2 separate regions of the Homo sapiens genome follow, and region 2 is linked to region 1. Evidence: promoter capture Hi-C in human tissues and cell types (Jung and others, 2019). All regions are on one chromosome and are shown on one strand. Each heading gives the region's core, a stretch centred on a gene start or on the middle of the fragment in contact. The rest is flanking DNA. Distances are from core to core; before and after follow the strand shown.

The links. Contacts are between HindIII fragments. The study calls those that stand out against the background at their distance.
Region 2: a contact is called between a fragment that was not itself captured here and the fragment with the promoter of UGT1A9 in region 1, in 1 of the 25 tissues and cell types used here (liver).

Annotation. Positions count from the first base shown.
Region 1 is chr2:233,668,773-233,673,926 of GRCh38, forward strand. It overlaps UGT1A9 (UDP glucuronosyltransferase family 1 member A9), which reads left to right and starts at 3,126. Exons shown (of 5, transcript NM_021027.3): 1 at 3,126-4,017. The coding sequence starts at 3,163. The region is part of intron 1 of UGT1A8 (UDP glucuronosyltransferase family 1 member A8); the gene reads left to right. All of the region lies in intron 1 of UGT1A10 (UDP glucuronosyltransferase family 1 member A10), which reads left to right. It also overlaps UGT1A. The HindIII fragment of the contact is 24,288 bases long and covers 1-5,154 here.
Region 2 is chr2:233,718,801-233,723,909 of GRCh38, forward strand. The region is part of intron 1 of UGT1A8 (UDP glucuronosyltransferase family 1 member A8); the gene reads left to right. The region is part of intron 1 of UGT1A10 (UDP glucuronosyltransferase family 1 member A10); the gene reads left to right. The region is part of intron 1 of UGT1A9 (UDP glucuronosyltransferase family 1 member A9); the gene reads left to right. All of the region lies in intron 1 of UGT1A7 (UDP glucuronosyltransferase family 1 member A7), which reads left to right. It also overlaps UGT1A6, UGT1A5, UGT1A4, UGT1A and the pseudogene RPL17P11. Among named protein-coding and RNA genes, the nearest start is that of UGT1A4, 2.6 kb to the left of the region's middle. The HindIII fragment of the contact is 5,054 bases long and covers 396-5,109 here.

The DNA.
Region 1 (5,154 bases), core at 1,876-4,375:
CTATGTTTTCTTTAGATGTCATTAATTTTTACCTAATGTCCTTGTTCTTTTCTGGGATCCCATCCAGGATACCGCATGACATTTACTCATCACATTTGTTTCATCTCCTCTAGCCTGTGACAGTTTTTCAGAGTTTCCTTGGTTTTGATTACTTTGTCAGTTTTGAGCAATTCTGGTGAGGTATTCTGTAGAATGTTCCTCAGTTTGAGTTTGTCTGATGTTTTGATTATGGTAACACAGGGGTTATAGGTTTTTAGGAGGAAGACCACAAGGTAATGTGTTTTCCCGCTTTCTTGCGAATGGATACCCAACTGTTGAAGAGTCATCTTTTCCCCACAGAATTGCCTGTGCACCTTTGAAAAAACTTGGTTGCTCATACTTCTATTTCTGGGTATTCTATTCTGTTCCAATGATCTTTTTGTGAAATATTTGATTACTATAGATTTGTAATAAGTCTTGAAATTAGGTAATAATTGCTCTCCATTTTTTTTTCTATTTTTTAAAAGTTATTTTTGCTATTGTAGGTCTTTTACATTTCCCTATGAATTTTAGAATCAGTTTGCCAATTTGTACAAAAAGATAGCCTGCTGGAATTTAGATTGGGGTTGTATTAAATTTATAGATCAACTAAGGAAAAATAACATTTTAACAATTTTGAGTTTTCTGATTCATGAACATATCTATTTATTCAGGTCTCTCACCAATGTTTTGTTGTTTTCAGTGTACAATCTTTCACATCTTTTGTCAGATTTATCTGTTAGTATTTTTTATTTTTGATGCTATTTAGGTGCTGTTTTCATTCCAATTTTCAATTGTTCATTGCTAGTACATTTGACCCTTGAAGAATGTGAGGATTGAGGTACCAACCCCCGAGCAGTAAAAAATTAGCATAGAAAGGTTTTGTGGGTTTCTTTTTGTTTTTTATTTTTGAGACAGAGTCGTGCTGTTTTGCCCGGGCTGGAGTATAATGGCGTGATCTCAGCTCAATGCAACCTCCGCTTCCCGGGTTCAAGTGATTCTCCTGCCTCAGCCTCCAGAGTAGCTGGGATTACAGGCATGCACCACCACCTGCAGCTAATTTTTTGCATTTTTAGTAGAGATAGGGTTTCACCATGTTGGCCAGGCTGGTCTCCAACTCCTGGCCTCCCGTGATACGCCCACCTTGACCTCCCAAAGTGCTGGGACTACAGGTGTGAGCCACCACGCCCAGCACACATAGAATTTTTGACTCCCTAAAAATTTAACTATTAATAGCCTACTGTGCACTAGAAGCCTTACCAATAACAGAAACAGTTGCTTAACACATATTTGGCATGTTATATGTGTTATATACTGTATTATCATAATGAAGTCAGCTAGAGAAAAGAAAATGTTATTAAGAAAATCTTAAGGAAGAGAAAATTAAGTATTCATTAAGTGGAAGTGGATCATGATAAAGGTCTTCCTCTTGATTGTCCTCCATTGAGTAGGCTGAGAAGGAGGAAGAGGTGGGTTGGTTTTGCTGTTTCAGGGGTGGCAGAGGGGGAAGAAGTGGAGGAAGAAGGAGGAGAGACAGGTACACTTGGTGTAACTTTACAGAATTACATCATAATTATTATTTGACTTTTTTGCCTTTGCAATTCTTTGAAAATGCTTTTTTACAGTACTAGTCCTTCTTCCCCATTTGCTTTAGTTTCAGTGCCCATTCATGGAAGGGTTTGTGTTGTAAAATAAGTCAAAAGTAGTCTTAATAATTGGAAGCCTTTGCCAAACTGTTTAATAGGAATTTGTTTTCTGGCATGGCTTCTTCTATGTCTTCTTTAGTATCTGGTACTGATTCAAAAGCACTCATCTCCATCAAGTCATCTTCTGTTGATTCCTCTGGTGTGGTGTCTATTCATTCTTGAATTTCTCACAGATTCATATCTTGAAAGACCATATCCCCCACCTTTTGTTGCTGAATTAGAGATGTTGGGTTTGCAGGCAAGTAGACCACTTTGACACCTTCAGTGTTGAACTCATGGGTTCTGGGTGGCTAGGGGCATTGTCCAAAAATCAAAAGAACTTTGAAAGACCGTCTCTTACTGGCAAGATATTACCTGACTTCAGGGACAAAGTAATGATAGAACCAATCCAGAAAAAGTGTTCTTGCCGAGGCCTTCTTGTACAACAAAAAAACTGGCAGTGGGTATTGATCTTTTCCCTTTAAGGCTTGGAGGCTAGCAGGCTTATGGATGGGGGCAGTCCTATTTGTAAACCCAAACATACAAACATACAAACTATGTCAAAGGCATAGCATGGGTACTGTGAAAGGAGGGTGAAAACACAAAGTTGACATCACCTCTGACCTCAAGGAGTGCTCAGCAGACTGAGAGAGACAAGTACATATTTTCCTGAAGGAGGGCACTGGAGTGATGGCGTGTTTAGAATGTGCAAGTTGAGCGGTCACTGAGAGGCAGCTCAGCAGAGTGCTCTCGCAAGGATTGGGCGGGCAACTTCCCACTGCGTGCGATGTATCTTAGGAAAGCCATTTAAAATAGGAGACGGTTACTTTCCATCAAGTCCCTGGTATGGTCCATGGAAGCAGGGTTGTCAGTCTCATTTCAGCATTTTAGAGGCTTCTCAGGGTTTGGAAATGGAAGAAGAGAAGCAGCAATATGTATGCATTGCAGAGACACAGGCGAGCCCCAATTTAGGAGGTTAGGAGGTCAGTGCTAAGGGCCTTGTTTTCTTTGCTTAGAGCATGAGTTGCCATCTTCTCTGGACAGAGAGTATTTGGTTGCCTAAAGGTAAAATCTAAATTTTGCTCTGGGACAAATTCCAAAAAAAATTAGCTTTAATCAAATTTACTTTTACTTTATCTTTCTGAACCTTCAAGGTCCAAAAGCATTGGTTAATAATTCTGCTTCTAAACTTAACATTGCAGCACAGGGCATGTTCTGCCCCCAAGGCAAAGACCATAAGCTACTGTTGTCTGGAAAACATACAAATAGATATCTCAGCAAAAGCTACTCATATATTCTTGTTCTTTTGGGTAAATCATTGTCAGTGACTGATTTTTTTTTTATGAAAGGATAAAAACACGCCCTCTATTGGGGTCAGGTTTTGTGCTGGTATTTCTCCCACCTACTGTATCATAGGAGCTTAGATTCCCAGCTGCTTGCTCTCAGCTGCAGTTCTCTGATGGCTTGCACAGGGTGGACCAGCCCCCTTCCTCTATGTGTGTGTCTGCTGCTGACCTGTGGCTTTGCCGAGGCAGGGAAGCTACTGGTAGTGCCCATGGATGGGAGCCACTGGTTCACCATGAGGTCGGTGGTGGAGAAACTCATTCTCAGGGGGCATGAGGTGGTTGTAGTCATGCCAGAGGTGAGTTGGCAACTGGGAAGATCACTGAATTGCACAGTGAAGACTTATTCAACTTCATATACCCTGGAGGATCTGGACCGGGAGTTCAAGGCTTTTGCCCATGCTCAATGGAAAGCACAAGTACGAAGTATATATTCTCTATTAATGGGTTCATACAATGACATTTTTGACTTATTTTTTTCAAATTGCAGGAGTTTGTTTAAAGACAAAAAATTAGTAGAATACTTAAAGGAGAGTTCTTTTGATGCAGTGTTTCTCGATCCTTTTGATAACTGTGGCTTAATTGTTGCCAAATATTTCTCCCTCCCCTCCGTGGTCTTCGCCAGGGGAATACTTTGCCACTATCTTGAAGAAGGTGCACAGTGCCCTGCTCCTCTTTCCTATGTCCCCAGAATTCTCTTAGGGTTCTCAGATGCCATGACTTTCAAGGAGAGAGTACGGAACCACATCATGCACTTGGAGGAACATTTATTATGCCACCGTTTTTTCAAAAATGCCCTAGAAATAGCCTCTGAAATTCTCCAAACACCTGTTACGGAGTATGATCTCTACAGCCACACATCAATTTGGTTGTTGCGAACGGACTTTGTTTTGGACTATCCCAAACCCGTGATGCCCAACATGATCTTCATTGGTGGTATCAACTGCCATCAGGGAAAGCCGTTGCCTATGGTAAGTTATCTCTCCTTTAGCACCTTAAGAATACTTCACCTTTGGAAATTAAAAAAGGATTCTTTACTGAACTGTGATTTGACATTTTCATTTGTTTCATTTCAAATTTCTTTCCAGTTTAACAAATTATTTTGTGCCAATGCGTGTACTCGTCAGTAGCAAATTTTATAAAACTGCCCTTCTTGAAGATATGTATTTATAACTTATAAAATTGTGGAACATATTCAGCCTACATTTTTAAGTACCATGTTTAGAAAAGTACCAAAAACCACAGTAAGAAATGAAACTTCCCTTTTTTGTTAATTCTATATGCCCGCCCCAGAGGAAATGGTCTTAGTTTTGTGAACATTCTTTTAATGTTTTTAAAAAAGTACTTTAGGTATATACAATATCTAATGTAAATTCTCACACCTATTTTGTTAAAATAAAATCTAGTATTGGGCTGGACATATTCTTCTTTTCTTTGCATTTTTCACTTGCCAATAAATTATAAATACCTTTATAGACCAATACAGACAGATTTGACAAGTTCTATTAATAATTGCATAAAATACTTTACTTTGGATGCAATGTAGTTTTTAACCAATTAATATTGATATAGATTTAGGCATTTTGCATTTTTTGTCTTTATGAATAGGGCCGTGTAAACACTCTTTAATACTTTCCTTACATGAATATATTTCCATATTCTTGCTTTTATCTTAGTTGACTAGAGCCCTACATGTAGGGTTACAGGATTTCCATGAATTGAGAAGGATTGGCATTTTTTTGCTATTGTGTCTTCCTGTTCAGGAATATGTATGTCTCACTATTTATTCAGATCTTGTTTTATATACATAAATAAAATTTTTCACTATATAAGCATTTTCTGTTTCTTATTAACATTTATTCCTCAGCATTTCATTATTTTTGAAACTATTGGGTACAGGACAATTTTTCCATTTCTACATGTAACTGACTATGGGTAATTAAGGTTTTGTTTTTTGCATATGTATCTTGTATCCAGCCACATTACTAACTTATCTTATTATTTTGTAGTATACAGTAGATGTACAATATACAATGTCAACTGCAAAGAATTCCCTTCTCTGATATTTATACCACTTATTTTGCTTTGCTGGAGCTTATACTTCCAAA
Region 2 (5,109 bases), core at 1,673-4,172, 50 kb after region 1:
TGTCGGTGGCTTCTGCTGAGATGGCCAGAGGACTCCAGGTTCCCCTGCCGCGGCTGGCCACAGGACTGCTGCTCCTCCTCAGTGTCCAGCCCTGGGCTGAGAGTGGAAAGGTGTTGGTGGTGCCCACTGATGGCAGCCCCTGGCTCAGCATGCGGGAGGCCTTGCGGGAGCTCCATGCCAGAGGCCACCAGGCGGTGGTCCTCACCCCAGAGGTGAATATGCACATCAAAGAAGAGAAATTTTTCACCCTGACAGCCTATGCTGTTCCATGGACCCAGAAGGAATTTGATCGCGTTACGCTGGGCTACACTCAAGGGTTCTTTGAAACAGAACATCTTCTGAAGAGATATTCTAGAAGTATGGCAATTATGAACAATGTATCTTTGGCCCTTCATAGGTGTTGTGTGGAGCTACTGCATAATGAGGCCCTGATCAGGCACCTGAATGCTACTTCCTTTGATGTGGTTTTAACAGACCCCGTTAACCTCTGTGGGGCGGTGCTGGCTAAGTACCTGTCGATTCCTGCTGTGTTTTTTTGGAGGTACATTCCATGTGACTTAGACTTTAAGGGCACACAGTGTCCAAATCCTTCCTCCTATATTCCTAAGTTACTAACGACCAATTCAGACCACATGACATTCCTGCAAAGGGTCAAGAACATGCTCTACCCTCTGGCCCTGTCCTACATTTGCCATACTTTTTCTGCCCCTTATGCAAGTCTTGCCTCTGAGCTTTTTCAGAGAGAGGTGTCAGTGGTGGATCTTGTCAGCTATGCATCCGTGTGGCTGTTCCGAGGGGACTTTGTGATGGACTACCCCAGGCCGATCATGCCCAACATGGTCTTCATTGGGGGCATCAACTGTGCCAACGGGAAGCCACTATCTCAGGTCTGTATTGGTGCCTTCATCCAATCAATGTTCCAGGCAAAACACTTTTTAAAAAATGTATTTACTTACAAGTGCTTCCATATCTACTTATCTTTCCAAAGATTTTATTTTGGCTTCTTTATAACAGATAAACTGTTGAGGGGCCTAGTGTATTTCAAGTTTTCAGTGGTCACTGAGAGGAAGAAGAGGCACGGATGAGGGTCTGTCAGAGGATGGACAAGGACTGCTGTGACTCACGGACAGTGTTTGTAAAGGCACCATCTTCATGGTTGTGCATGTCCTTCAGCTCGGCAGGATCAGGGACACTACATTCAGAACTGATCCATCCTGGGGTTTTTGCTTGCCTGATTTTCAGCTGAACGGTGATGCAACAGTAAATTAGAATTGTGGACATGATAATTTTTAGTGGTCCCATCTTGCGAAAGATACAGAGGTGACCACAGGAGACCTAGGCACTCACAGGAAGTAGAAGTGTCAAAGAGGTTGACTCAGTTGAGTGGAAGTGGGGCTGTGAAGGTGGGATGGATGCATGTGATCAGAGAATGAAACATGGAGTTCAGTTTCCAGAGAGGGATCTGTCCTGAGAAAAGTTTTTCTGACCAGGAGTTGGGGGTCTGGTGTATGATGTGGGGACATCGTAGAGTTTGGAAGGTATGGTGATGGTTGCATGTCAAAAGGGTCTTCTACTTGGAATGCTGAAATTATCAAGAGTGGGTGGAAGGGACTAGGGAGGAGATAAGACCGTGAATCTATAAGCCCAGTGAAGCTGGGACCAGTGATGAATGGACATGTGTCCAAGAAGGGAAGTGTTTCTCAGGTGAAGCTGATCATATCACCAAACTCACCCTATCCCACTCCAAGTTTCTATAGTGGGATCTATTCTTTTTCCAAAAATTTCAGAGGTGACTTTCATTAATACAGAATATTTGGGTTTCATTGAAATAGTACTCTGGGATGTGAAAAACCAAATTCACACACCAATGAATTTGGTTTCTAAATCCATTAAGGGAGCCATCCTTTTTTTTTTTTTTTTCTTGAGACTGAGCCTCGTTCTGTCGCCCAGGCTGGAGGGCAGTGGCCGGATCTCCGCTCACTGCAACCTTCACCTCCCGGGTTTAAGAAATTCTCCCACCTCAGTCTCCTGAGTAACTGGGACTGCAGGCATGTGCCACTGCTCCTGGCAATTTTTTTTTTTTTTTTTTTAGTAGAGATGAGGTTTCGCAATGTTAGCCAGGCTGGTCTTGAACTCCTGACCTCATGTGATCTGCCCGCCTCGGCCTCCCAAAGTGCTGGGATTACAGGCAAGAGCCACCAAGCCCAGTGAGGGAGCCATCTTTCTTGTGAGAGAATTGAGCCCTTTTTTGTCATATTCACTGAATTTATATGAACTTCCATGAGTTTAGGTCCTTTGTATTCTTATTTCTGTACTTCTTTTTATTAGTGTAGGTATTATTGCAAAGGACACTAAACTTTATTTTTGTTTTTGATCAAACCACAAGATATTTGTTCTACTGGTTTTCTTTTCCCCTTATGCAATGTAGTTACTGAATTGTAAAAAATATATATGTTCTTTAGCTTTGTAAAAATGTGGAAAATTAGGAAGGCATTTGAATAGTGATTGTGGCTCTTTTCTTGTGGTTTTTCACTATGAATATATTCTTTAGACTGAACTGCACTGGCTCAAATCTTCACTCTCATTTTTCTAGCTATGTGACCTAGGACAGGTACCCTAAGCATTGTGGTTTTAATGTTGTTATAGTGAGCACCCAATAAATATTATCTGTTATCATTCTTATTATTTTAGTTTAATTGCATTTATTTTATGCTGAATTTCTTCCAGAGCCATAGGTAAATTTTTTCTTCAGTTTCTTCTGGGATATCTTTTTCTTCTGTGCAACCTCATCCTCAGGTTTAGGAACAATTTGTTCCTTATCAGTAAAGATCATCTTGAATGTGGCAGTGGGGGGTCATGTAAGGGTTAATCCAATAATGAGCTCTGCAAGACGCATGGCTCATCTTGGATGCTTTGTTTACTTGGATAAGCTTAATGATGAGAGAATCTACATCTAAATTGTTATATTTAGCATTATTCTCTGCATTTTAAAGCACATGCAGCAAAAATCCAGCACCCTATTTGGGCCACCGACCTTGTGTCCAGCCCCACTGCTCGGCCCTGGGCACACTTGCCAGCCCCTCCATTGCAATATCGAAATGGTGCACACTGCTTCCATAAAGTGACATCCTTCAGACACTTGGTGGCTCTTTGTATATGCATACATTGATGGCCTGGGTAGTTTCACGAATGTCCTTTAAGTGAACAGGAAAACTGAAACCTCTTGAATTGCATGATTTTGTGGTGTTTCTGGGTCAAGTGAATAAAGAAGAATTTTCACAGATCACCTTAGGCCTCTTAGAGGAAGAGCTATCATCATCATTAGTAGAGTTTAAGACTCCTGCAGGACAAGATGTGTCACCTGGAGACCTTTGCCATGTTCGTGCCAATTTACTGAGTGCATGAAAGATCATTTACACCAAAATCTTTATCATGTATTATCTGTGACAGACACGCCATTATCATTTTTATTACATTGATTTCCTTTGTTATTTTGTCACCCTTACTTACTTGGTTTGGTTGACCCTTAGATTTGAAATTTTTCTACAAATATACAAGACTAAAGTTGAAATCTTACGTTTCTTCTCCCTCTCTTTCTCCTTGATTTAAAGTTTATGGATAGGTTGAATTATTTGATTGGTCTTCTCAAAGAAATAACTGTGGAATTTGTATATTCTTTTCACTGTTTCATTTTCCGTTTCGTTAATTGCAGCTTATTTTTGCCTTAATGATTTCATCCTAGTTTCTTTTGGTTGATTTGTAGCTGCTTTTGCAACTTCGTTAGAGGACTATTACACTTCTTTACATTTGATTTTTCTTAATGAAGCATTGAGGGCTCGAGTAAAAGATTTCTTTTACTTAGGTTTTGGTAAAAATTGCTGTTCTTTTCATTGCTTTTAGATAATTTAAATATCAGTTTTTAAATTTCTCCTTTGATGCAGTGACTGTCTATAAGGCTGTTACCTAATTCTGATATTGTTAATAATTTTGTAGTCATCTCCCTCTTATTTTTTCAAGTTATTTTGTATTATAATAAGAATGTTTCTTTTTTTTTTTTTTGAAGGAAAAAATAAATTTATTGCTCATTAAGTGGAAGTGGATCATCATAAAGGTCTTCATCCTCATTGTCTCCATGCTGAGTGGGCTGAGGAGGAGGAGGAAGGGGAGGGATTGGTCCTGCTGTCTCAGCGTGGCAGAGGCAGAAGAGGATGAGAAGGTGGAAGGGCCAGCGGGAGAGGCAGGCACACTCGGTGTAACTTTATGGAAATATATCATCATTTTTGTTTGACTTTTTTCCTTTCTCATTTCTCTGAAAATGTTTCTGTACAGTACCAATTCTTCTTCCACCATTTGCTTTAGTTTCAGTGCCCAAACCATAGAAGGGTCCATGTGGTAAAAAAAGTCAAAACTGACTTTTTTTTTTTTTTTTGAGTTGGAGTCCTGCTGTCACCCAGGCTGGAGTGCAATGGCACGATGTTGGCTCACTGCAACCTCTGCCTCCCAGGTTCAAGCAATTCTCCTGTCTCAGCCTCACAAGTAGCTAGGACTACAGGCACACGTCACCACACCTGGCTAATTTTTGTACTTTTAGTAGAGATGGGGTTTCACCATACTGGTCAGGCTGGTCTCGAACTCCTGACCTCAGGTGATCCACCCGCCTCAGCCTCCCAAAGTGCTAGGATTCCAGGTGTGAGCCACTGCACCTGGTCAACAATCTTTTTTTTTTTTTTTTTTTTAATTTATTTTTTTATTGATAATTCTTGGGTGTTTCTCACAGAGGGGGATTTGGCAGGGTCATGGGACAATAGTGGAGGGAAGGTCAGCAGATAAACAAGTGAACAAAGGTCTCTGGTTTTCCCAGGCAGAGGACCCTGCGGCCTTCCGCAGTGTTTGTGTCCCTGATTACTTGAGATTAGGGATTGGTGATGACTCTTAACGAGCATGCTGCCTTCAAGCATCTGTTTAACAAAGCACATCTTGCACCGCCCTTAATCCATTTAACCCTGAGTGGACACAGCACATGTTTCAGAGAGCACAGGGTTGGGGGTAAGGTCACAGATCAACAGGATCCCAAGGCAGAGGAATTTTTCTTAGTGCAGAACAAAATGA